2 separate regions of the Homo sapiens genome follow, and region 1 is linked to region 2. Evidence: promoter capture Hi-C in 16 types of primary human blood cells and fetal thymus (Javierre and others, 2016). All regions are on one chromosome and are shown on one strand. Each heading gives the region's core, a stretch centred on a gene start or on the middle of the fragment in contact. The rest is flanking DNA. Distances are from core to core; before and after follow the strand shown. Region 1 has its middle 14 kb from the start of NGDN. Region 2 holds the start of PCK2 (phosphoenolpyruvate carboxykinase 2, mitochondrial).

Region 1 (3,971 bases), core at 40-2,539, 610 kb before region 2:
TCTGTTCCCTACTCATCTTTGCTTAGAGAACCTTGAGGGGACTTAAAGTTGCTTTTTCATTCCTTGGGCCTCGTTTTCTGCCTCTGCATGAGGAAAGGCATCAATGCTCTGGCTCTCTGCCCAGTCTTGCTTTTGTGTTTCTTTGATCTCATTGTTCAGAGGGTCTCAGAGAAGCCCCCAGAGCCATGCCTTTGCATGTTTAAGCTATTGATGCTTTTGAGATGACAGAGCGTCGCTGTGTAAGAAGTGTATTAAAGGTCTATCGTGAACAAACTTGGGTCAATAGGTGGCAGTAGTCACTGAGTCCTGAGGCCCTGACACCCCCTAAACACAAACACATTTGATGGCCATTATATTTAAGGAAGGATGTGAGAAAGGAGGTCACATTGAGATTAAAACGGGGAGAAAAGCAATCCTTTTTGGTGGAATCCAGGAAATGCTGAAATGTGCTGGATTACATCTGTGGGAGTGTTGTGTGGGGTGTAGGGGAAGATTGCTGTCAGCTAGTGAAGGGCACTGATTGGAAACAGCAGAGCCTCAGGATTGGGGGAACAGATTCATTCATCTAAGATGTAGGTGCTAAGGTTTCTTCCAGCTAGAGTAAGCATGTGTTAAATGAGGACCAGCACTGAAAGGACAGAGTGGGGTTGGAGTGAGTAGAGATACAAGTAGGGGAAGGAGGGGCAGAACTGTGTGACGGGACCGTGGAAAGGGTGGGCTGTGAAGGGGAGGACTGCGGTTAGAGGGGGAGGGGGAGGCTGCTGCAATACTGAGCCTATCTAATGGGGGAGGGGAGGGGGAGATATTGGTGTGTGCTGCAGCTGCATTACTTCCCCTCCCCCACACTTCCCAAGAAGCCAGAGCAGTGCTGGCAAATCTGTCTTCATGTATTTATTATTATTAAAAATGTGACAGATCCTTCCTCCCTGGAAGCACAACAAATACTACTGATCACATTTCTCTCTCCCCTCCCTCTGCAGAGCTTTTGCATTCTCTCTTTCATTCCACCCTGTCCTCCCCCACTTGGTCTGTTTGGTGGGGGGAACCCTTCCCTTCTTTCCTTCTTAGACCTTGGTGGCTCCCTGGGGGTTTCTAATGGTGGTTGGGAGTTTTGAGGCAGTGCTGGGAGGAAGCAGCTGAGTGAGGGGCATTCATGGCCCCAGGGAGGCAGCTGTATTCTCTTATATCCAGTGGGGAGAGGAAATCACTTGGAAATAAAGATAAAAATCCTTTCTCCAGGTAATGAAATAAGCAGGTGCTCACATTCCTTTCAGTACCTGGTGTTCCTCCCTCTTCATATTCTTCTCTTTTCTACTGCCTGAATTCTGAAGGGGAAACCCCCTTGTAATGGAAAAAGCCAGGAGTTCTCTGTCTTCCCTCCCTTACCTTAAGTCCCTCTCTTCCCAGGAAAGCCATATACTATTTATTCTTCTAGCCTGCATGTTGTGTAACCAAGAGATTTGAATGGCAAAAGCCATGGCTTCTTCCTCCCCACCTGCACCCCAGACTCCCATGCCTAGGCGGGAACCTCTTTTGTTGCAGCCTGTAGCCCTTCACCATACCCATAGGTGGTGCTGCTGTTGCTCTGCAGGCAGGGCCCTCCCGGCCAACATCATTCCTCCCCACCCTGTCGCCCTCCCCCTTTCCCCAGCCCTCTACTGCCTGATTGTTATTCCACCAACGTCTCCTCTACTGTTCCCTTCCTCAAATTAATTTTGTGGCGCTCTTTTTTCCGCAGTGCCATCTTCTTCCCCTCCCCCAGCTCCGGCTCTCTTGCTTTCTGTCTCTCTCTTTCTCTGTCTGCAGGATCTCCATCTCACTTCCCTACCTGAAATCTACACTCTTCCCTACTCCCTTTTTCGTTATCTGTTCTACCCCTGACATCTTACAGATGACTCTCCCAATGAAAGGGGGCTGTAGATGAGGGTGGCTTAGAAGAGAACAGGGTGAGGAGAACTGAGGGGTCAGTACCGAAGAGTAGGTGGGAGAATGACGAGGCTCTACAGGGGAAACATGATGGGAGACAGAAGATATCCTTTGCTGTCTGCATCTATTCAGTTCCTGGATTTGGATAAGGAGAGTTCACTTGGCAAGCGATCGATCCTGTGTTATCTGAATCTACAGATTTGGGTTCTACATGCTGGGAAAATGGGAGCTAGGGAATAGCAAGAATTCAGATAATAATGGCTCATCCAGAAACTTTTGGATTAGATTGCTAAGGATACCTCTACTTTCGTTATCCTGTGTTTTGAAGACTGGAGGAGATGTCCTGTTACTGATCTTTTGTGTCCTCAGAAGGTTCTTTCCAGGACAGTTGTGACACTTATGTGATGGACATCCTGGCTCTCTGGTCACTGCTGAGCACAATTCTGGCTGCAGGACCTTGGCTCACTCTTGTAGTCTGCCTCCTTTTTTTGTCATTCCATGTTGTTCCTTTATCACAGCTGAATTTACCTGGTTGCCCCATTCAGCCCACAGTGCCCTGTATTGCTTAGCCTTTCCAGAATATGCCCAAACTCTTTAGACTGTTAGCTCTTGCCTCATCTCGCTTCTTAACTTTATTTTGGAGACCTTTCATTGTGAGACCAGTACCCCACAACCAGCTAATTCAGCAGTGTTTTTTATTGTAAAGTTATCCAATTTCTAGGATGGCTAATTTTTCTCTTATTGGATTATTCTTTATGAATTAGTAGCATCCAGTTACTCCCTGGATGGTAGTGCTGAGTCTGACTTCTGTATATACTAGGAATAGGCCACAATATGGACCTCTTTCCTTGATTCCCTGGTGGGAGGAGATCTTCCTTAGCTTAAGTGGCAGTCCTAGAATGGCTGGCTTCCATTTCCTCAGCATGTGTAAGTCAAGACTGACTCCTGGACTATGGGGAGAGGCAGAGTTTGCCAGAGCCACAGTGAAAAGCAGGGACTAGAACACCAACCCCTCACCTTACTGTCTGGGCCATGGAAGTGCCTGTGGAGCCCTGTCTTCTTGCCTACCTCTCCTGCCTTCCTAAGGTGCATACATGAGTTGGTGGAGGCAGAGGCTGGTGGCCTCTTCATTTCCTCAGCTGATTTTCCTGTTTCCTTTCTTAGAGATCTTTCTTGCTGTATTCAGGGGACTGTAGTTAGGGTCATGGTTTCATGTAATGTAGACAGTGATCTCTGTTTAGGTCCCTCTTTTAAAAAGCAAGATCCAATAAATATTTGTTGCAGTGAATGGTAGAGACTTAGCTGCTTTAGCATCCTTTGGGAGAGCAGTAAATTGAGTTTTAACTATTTTTCTTTGTAGATACTTACATTGCTGTAGCTAAAATTGTTTGATTTTTGTTTTCTTTTGCTTACAGGCCCTATGGGGGAAATGATTTATCTAAGCCTATTCAAATAAGTCATTAGCAGAGCTGGTATTAGAATTTGTTTTCTCTCACATCCAGGTCTGACTTTTCCTTTACTACCCCTTAGAAACCAATGTCTCCAATTCATCCCCAGAGCCACTGGCAGCCTTGAAGGCAGCAACGTGGCCAGGTTTTGTGTCAAAAGCTGGCCTTGGTTGGCCTGATGCTGAGACAGCATCAGCAGCAAGACAGCCAGGGCATGTGGGCTTGGCTGGCTGGTTGAGGAATCTAGCTTGCTGGGATGGTATTAGCATTTCCGCAGGCCTTACACAGGCTAGCCTACTACAGGGGCCTCCAGAGTACCAAGGCAGGGAATGAATTCCCATTCCAGATTTAATTTGACCTTAACTGCTGGCTAGTATACCCCTTCTGCTAAATACCTTGGAGCTGGATGGCACTTGGTGGTGGATGCTGGAACTCTGGACGCTCCATTCTCTCTGTGCTGATCTTCCGCAGCAAACTCTTCAGTCCCAGGATCACTTAAATAACAAAAGGTTCTATGGACCACCCCCTTCCACTAGTGCTGATAACTCTAAATCTTACATCATTTTGTTCTAGTGTAAAACTACCATTGTGACTATA
Region 2 (4,212 bases), core at 1,160-3,659:
AGCAGGCATCTTGGAGGTCAAGTGCGGCATTTGACCTTTGATTTAGGGTGTTATATGTTGGCATACTTCTGGGGTCCTGCCTCCCTTTTTCCTTGATTCTTCCCTTAGGGTGACCGAGCAAATGACTCTTTAAGCCCGTGTCCACATATGTAAAATATAGTTGTGAAACAGAATGAGATTATGCATGCAGAGTTGCTGACACAGAGCCTGGCACCTACTGTCCATAGCATAAACATTATTCTTCTCTCTTAACTTTCCAAGTGGATTTGCATGCACAGTGTGGGGAGTGGCTTGGTAGGGAGAGGGGTTGGTGTTTGGAGAGGCAGGAGTCCAAGAAGTGCCTTAGAAGCTATCACCTGAAGCCAGGTGAGAGATAAGCCCTGAACTAAGGCCCTGGCCATGGGGATAGTTGCAGACTTGAGGGCTAATTGAGAAGTACAATTCCAAAGGTCCTGGCATCTGATTAGCTATGCAGGATAAGAATAGTCTAGACTGATTCCCTTTGGGGCAACTGGCCAGATGATGGTGCCATTTGCTGAGGTAGGAAACCATGAGAGCAGGTGCAGGATTATGGAGAAGATGATGACCTTCAGGTCAACCATGCTGCCACCAGTGTGCACACCTTTAGGCCCAAAGGTTGGCCAAGAGGTATGTGTTTGCAGCTGGGTAAGTGTGGACAGAGTTTGGATCTATGAACTGGGGGGAAAGAGATCCAAATACATATACCTGAGGTTGAGTGTAGGCTAGAGCCTGAGGGGGAAGAGACGGGGACCAGTAGCAAGCCCGTGGCTGGAGACCAGCTCTCCTTATCCCACTATGTTCCAGCATAGAACTCCAAGAAATCTGAGAATCAAGACTGTTTCTGTTGCAAGTGGCAGAACTCCAATTAAAATTAGCTTGAGCAAGAGAAGAAATGCATCAATTCCTGTAACTGAAATCAGGAATCCATTGCTCGCCATCTCCCTGCTCTGCTTCCTCTAGGCTGGCTTCTGTCTCAGCCAGGTTCCTGCTTTGCAGTGCCAAGCTAACACTCAGCAGCTCCAGGCTTATATTCTACCAGCTCAGCAACTCAGCAGAAAGAGAGCTAACTTCCAAAGTTTTAGAAAAAGTCCCAGAGAGGGATCTCATGCCCATCCTTGAACATCCTTGATTGCTGTGGCCAGAGTGAGGAACACAAAAGTTGGCTAAGCTGCAAGCCTACCCCCAAGAGGGGTGACATCAGACCCACATGACAATACAGACTGAGGAGATGGTTCCCCAAAAGAAAATCAGGGTGCTATTACCAGAAAAGGCGAGTGGATGCTGAGCAGACACCCATCATAGATATGCTGAGTTTGAGGTGCTATATAGCATTGTGGGTGATATCCAGTGGTCTCAGGTTGGAGAGAGATGTCCCAATGGAGGTATAGCTTGAGAAATCACCTGAGGACTTTATGATGGTAGTTGGGTGGGCAGATGAGTTTCCTCATTGGATTGTGGAGAGAAAGAATGACCAGGCCGGGCGTGGTGGCTCACGCCTGTAAATTCCAGCACTTTGGGAGGCCAAGGCAGGCGGATCACGAGGTCAGGAGTTGGAGACCAGCTTGGCCAGCATGGAGAAACCCCGTCTTTACAAAAAATACAAAAAATCAGCCGAGTGTGGTGGCAGGCGCCTGTAATTCCAGCTACTCTGCAGGTTGAGACAGGAGAATTGCTTGAACCCGGGAGGCGGAGTGTGCAGTGAGCCGAGATCGCGCCACTGCACGCACTCCAGCCTGGGTGACAGAGTAAGACTCCGTCAGGGGAAGAGGGGATGTGCCGGGGGAGGAGAATGACCAGATCAGAGGACCAAGGAAGAGACCCAGGGGTAGAGAGACTCCACCATTTCATGGCAAGGCAGAAAGGAGCCTTGATCAGGAGGAGAAACGGGGATTTAGGAGTTGGGGACTAAGTGGACCTTAGCATTGGGCACTTGGACTACAGAAAGGCCCAGGACTCAGGGTGTCGCGTCCCCAGGAGGAGGAACTGGAAAGGCAATGCCCAACCCCCTAACTTCTAGACGTCTGGCCCCTGTAGTCTCCCGCCCCTGGCCTCGCCCCTCGTTCCTAGCTTGTTTGCCACCTAGTGTCTCTCCCGGGAGCAAGAGTCCTCAAAGTTACATCATGTGCGGCTGGGAGGGCGGTGGCGGATGGGGGGCGGGGCCTCGAAGTCGGGGGCCGAAGAGTGGACCCAGTCCTCCAATGGGAGAGATGGGTTTGGCGGTTTGGAGGCAGGGGTTGGGGCGGCGGCTGGGCTGACCTGGAGCCTGGAGCCCCGGGGCCGAGGGAGCTGGCCTGCCAGCGGGGCGGAGGAAAGCTAGTGCCAGCCCTACCAGGTTCCGCCCCCGCGCCTGCCCCCCTCCTTTTTAAGCGCCTCCCGCCAGCCTCTGCTGTGGCTCGCTTCGCCGCGCTCCCTCCTTCCCCGCCTTCCATACCTCCCCGGCTCCGCTCGGTTCCTGGCCACCCCGCAGCCCCTGCCCAGGTGCCATGGCCGCATTGTACCGCCCTGGCCTGCGGTGAGTGACCCCCGGCCCGGGGCCCACCCGCACCTTCCGCTGCGCTCGCCCCCTCGGGGCTGCCAGTGGCGCTCTCCTGCTCTCAGCCTCCGCCAGGTTTCCCATCCTAGGCGGAGGCGGGCAGGGGCGACTGCTGTGGGTCCAGCCTCCCGCGCCGCGCGTCTCTTGGGAGGGCAGCCGGCCGGTGCTCCTCGTTTCCGCCTGCACCTCCCCTTCTCTGCCTCGCTCGCCTCTGACCGCGCGATCTCTATCTGCCACTCTCAGAACTTCCTCTCTCTCCTCGCTCCTCTCTGCTGAGCCAGGTCTCCGCATATCCTCCTTTCCTTCCCAGATACCTCCCTCGGACCTCTAACGGGCTCTCAGCCAGCGCCCCAGGGTACTTCGAGAGGCAGCAGGGCCCTGGGGACAAGGGTACGTGAGCCCCGGGAGACTAAGCTCAGAGCCCCCTAAAGAAGGTGGAAGGTTAAATATCCATTCCCGGCCTCTCCCGGACTGGAAGGACTGGAACCTGGCGGGAAGTCCAGAGCAGCCCGAGGGACCTGGGCCCAGGGGAGGGAGGCAAGCAAGGTGGGAGGAGGGCGCCAAGTTGCCTTCGTTTCTTACATAGCTGGCTTCTTCCTCCGTCCAGGCCTGGAGCCCCCAGGCTCGTCCTGTTTGTCTGCCTGTCCTCTTAGTCTCCTATTTATTCTCTGAGGCCTCTCTTCTCAGCTTTTGTCCCAGAGTCGGAAGTGACCCACATCTGTCGCACAGCCCGTTCCACTTGGGCAGCCCTTGTGGGTGGTCTCTGAAGGAAACGTCCCACTTAGAGGGCTGCAAGAGGGTGTGGGGGCTTCACAAGAGATAACGTGAGCCAGGCTCCAGGGAGAGAGAGGCTGTCCTCAAGACTGTGTGCTTGAAAACTGATGCTCACGGAGAACTTCCCTCTGAGGCAGGAACAGACCCAGGTCCCAGTAGCCCTCCTCCCCTGCCCCTGGGGCCACACTGATCATCTATCCTGCTTTAGCGGAAACCACCCCAGCTTCTACCCCAGACAGACTCAAGCTCCCGTATCCATGCTCTGAGCTTTCTTCCTTCCCCAGGCTAACACCCTCTGAGTCTGAGCTGCCAGCAAGCTGCTGTTCCACCCTCCCACCAACACCAAAGCTCTCTAGGCATGTGGCCTCTAGGAAGAAGAGCCAGGGGAAGCACGGGGTCACGTGGTCCTGGGTGTGGGGGCAGTTTCTGATGGGCGAGGCCTTGATAGAGGAGGAGAGTAACATCCCCTTCATGGTCTTTGCTCTCTCGGGTTTACTCCACCTTGAGTCCAGGCCAATCAGAGCAGACGTTGCTTCTCTGTCTCCCAGGGCCATGAGAGGACAGACAACAGGACGCTGACCTCCTGAGAATTAAGCCCATGAACCCCAGCCAGTGACACTCATTCCCCAGTGGTCAACCTTCCGCAGAGTTCAGAAATACTTACCCGAGGGCAACATTTTATGCAACCATTGTTGGTCCAAGTGGGCAGCAGCAGATCAGGGCCTGGAAGCCCAGCATCCAGTCACCTATTCTCTGTGCAAGAGCCCTCATCTAGAAACCTGGCACTGGAAAGACTGTGACCTTTGCTTGGGGCTTTCATAGTCTTACAGCATACACACCAGAAGGAAAGAATAAACACAGCTGCCATTTTAATTTATAAAAAA

What was found. Contacts are between HindIII fragments. The CHiCAGO score rates a contact against its expected background, and 5 or more counts as called.
Region 1: a contact is called between a fragment that was not itself captured here and the fragment with the promoter of PCK2 in region 2, in 1 of 17 cell types (naive CD8 T cells). The highest score is 5.6, in naive CD8 T cells.

Annotation. Positions count from the first base shown.
Region 1 is chr14:23,481,877-23,485,847 of GRCh38, forward strand. No RefSeq gene overlaps it. Among named protein-coding and RNA genes, the nearest start is that of NGDN, 14 kb to the left of the region's middle. RefSeq lists enhancers at 195-952, 953-1,709. The HindIII fragment of the contact is 5,436 bases long and covers 1-3,971 here.
Region 2 is chr14:24,091,902-24,096,113 of GRCh38, forward strand. PCK2 (phosphoenolpyruvate carboxykinase 2, mitochondrial) reads left to right here and starts at 2,410. Exons shown (of 10, transcript NM_004563.4): 1 at 2,410-2,533. The coding sequence starts at 2,505. The region is part of intron 1 of NRL (neural retina leucine zipper); the gene reads right to left. RefSeq lists a silencer at 2,176-2,425 and enhancers at 2,433-3,082, 2,736-2,805. The HindIII fragment of the contact is 4,962 bases long and covers 1-4,212 here.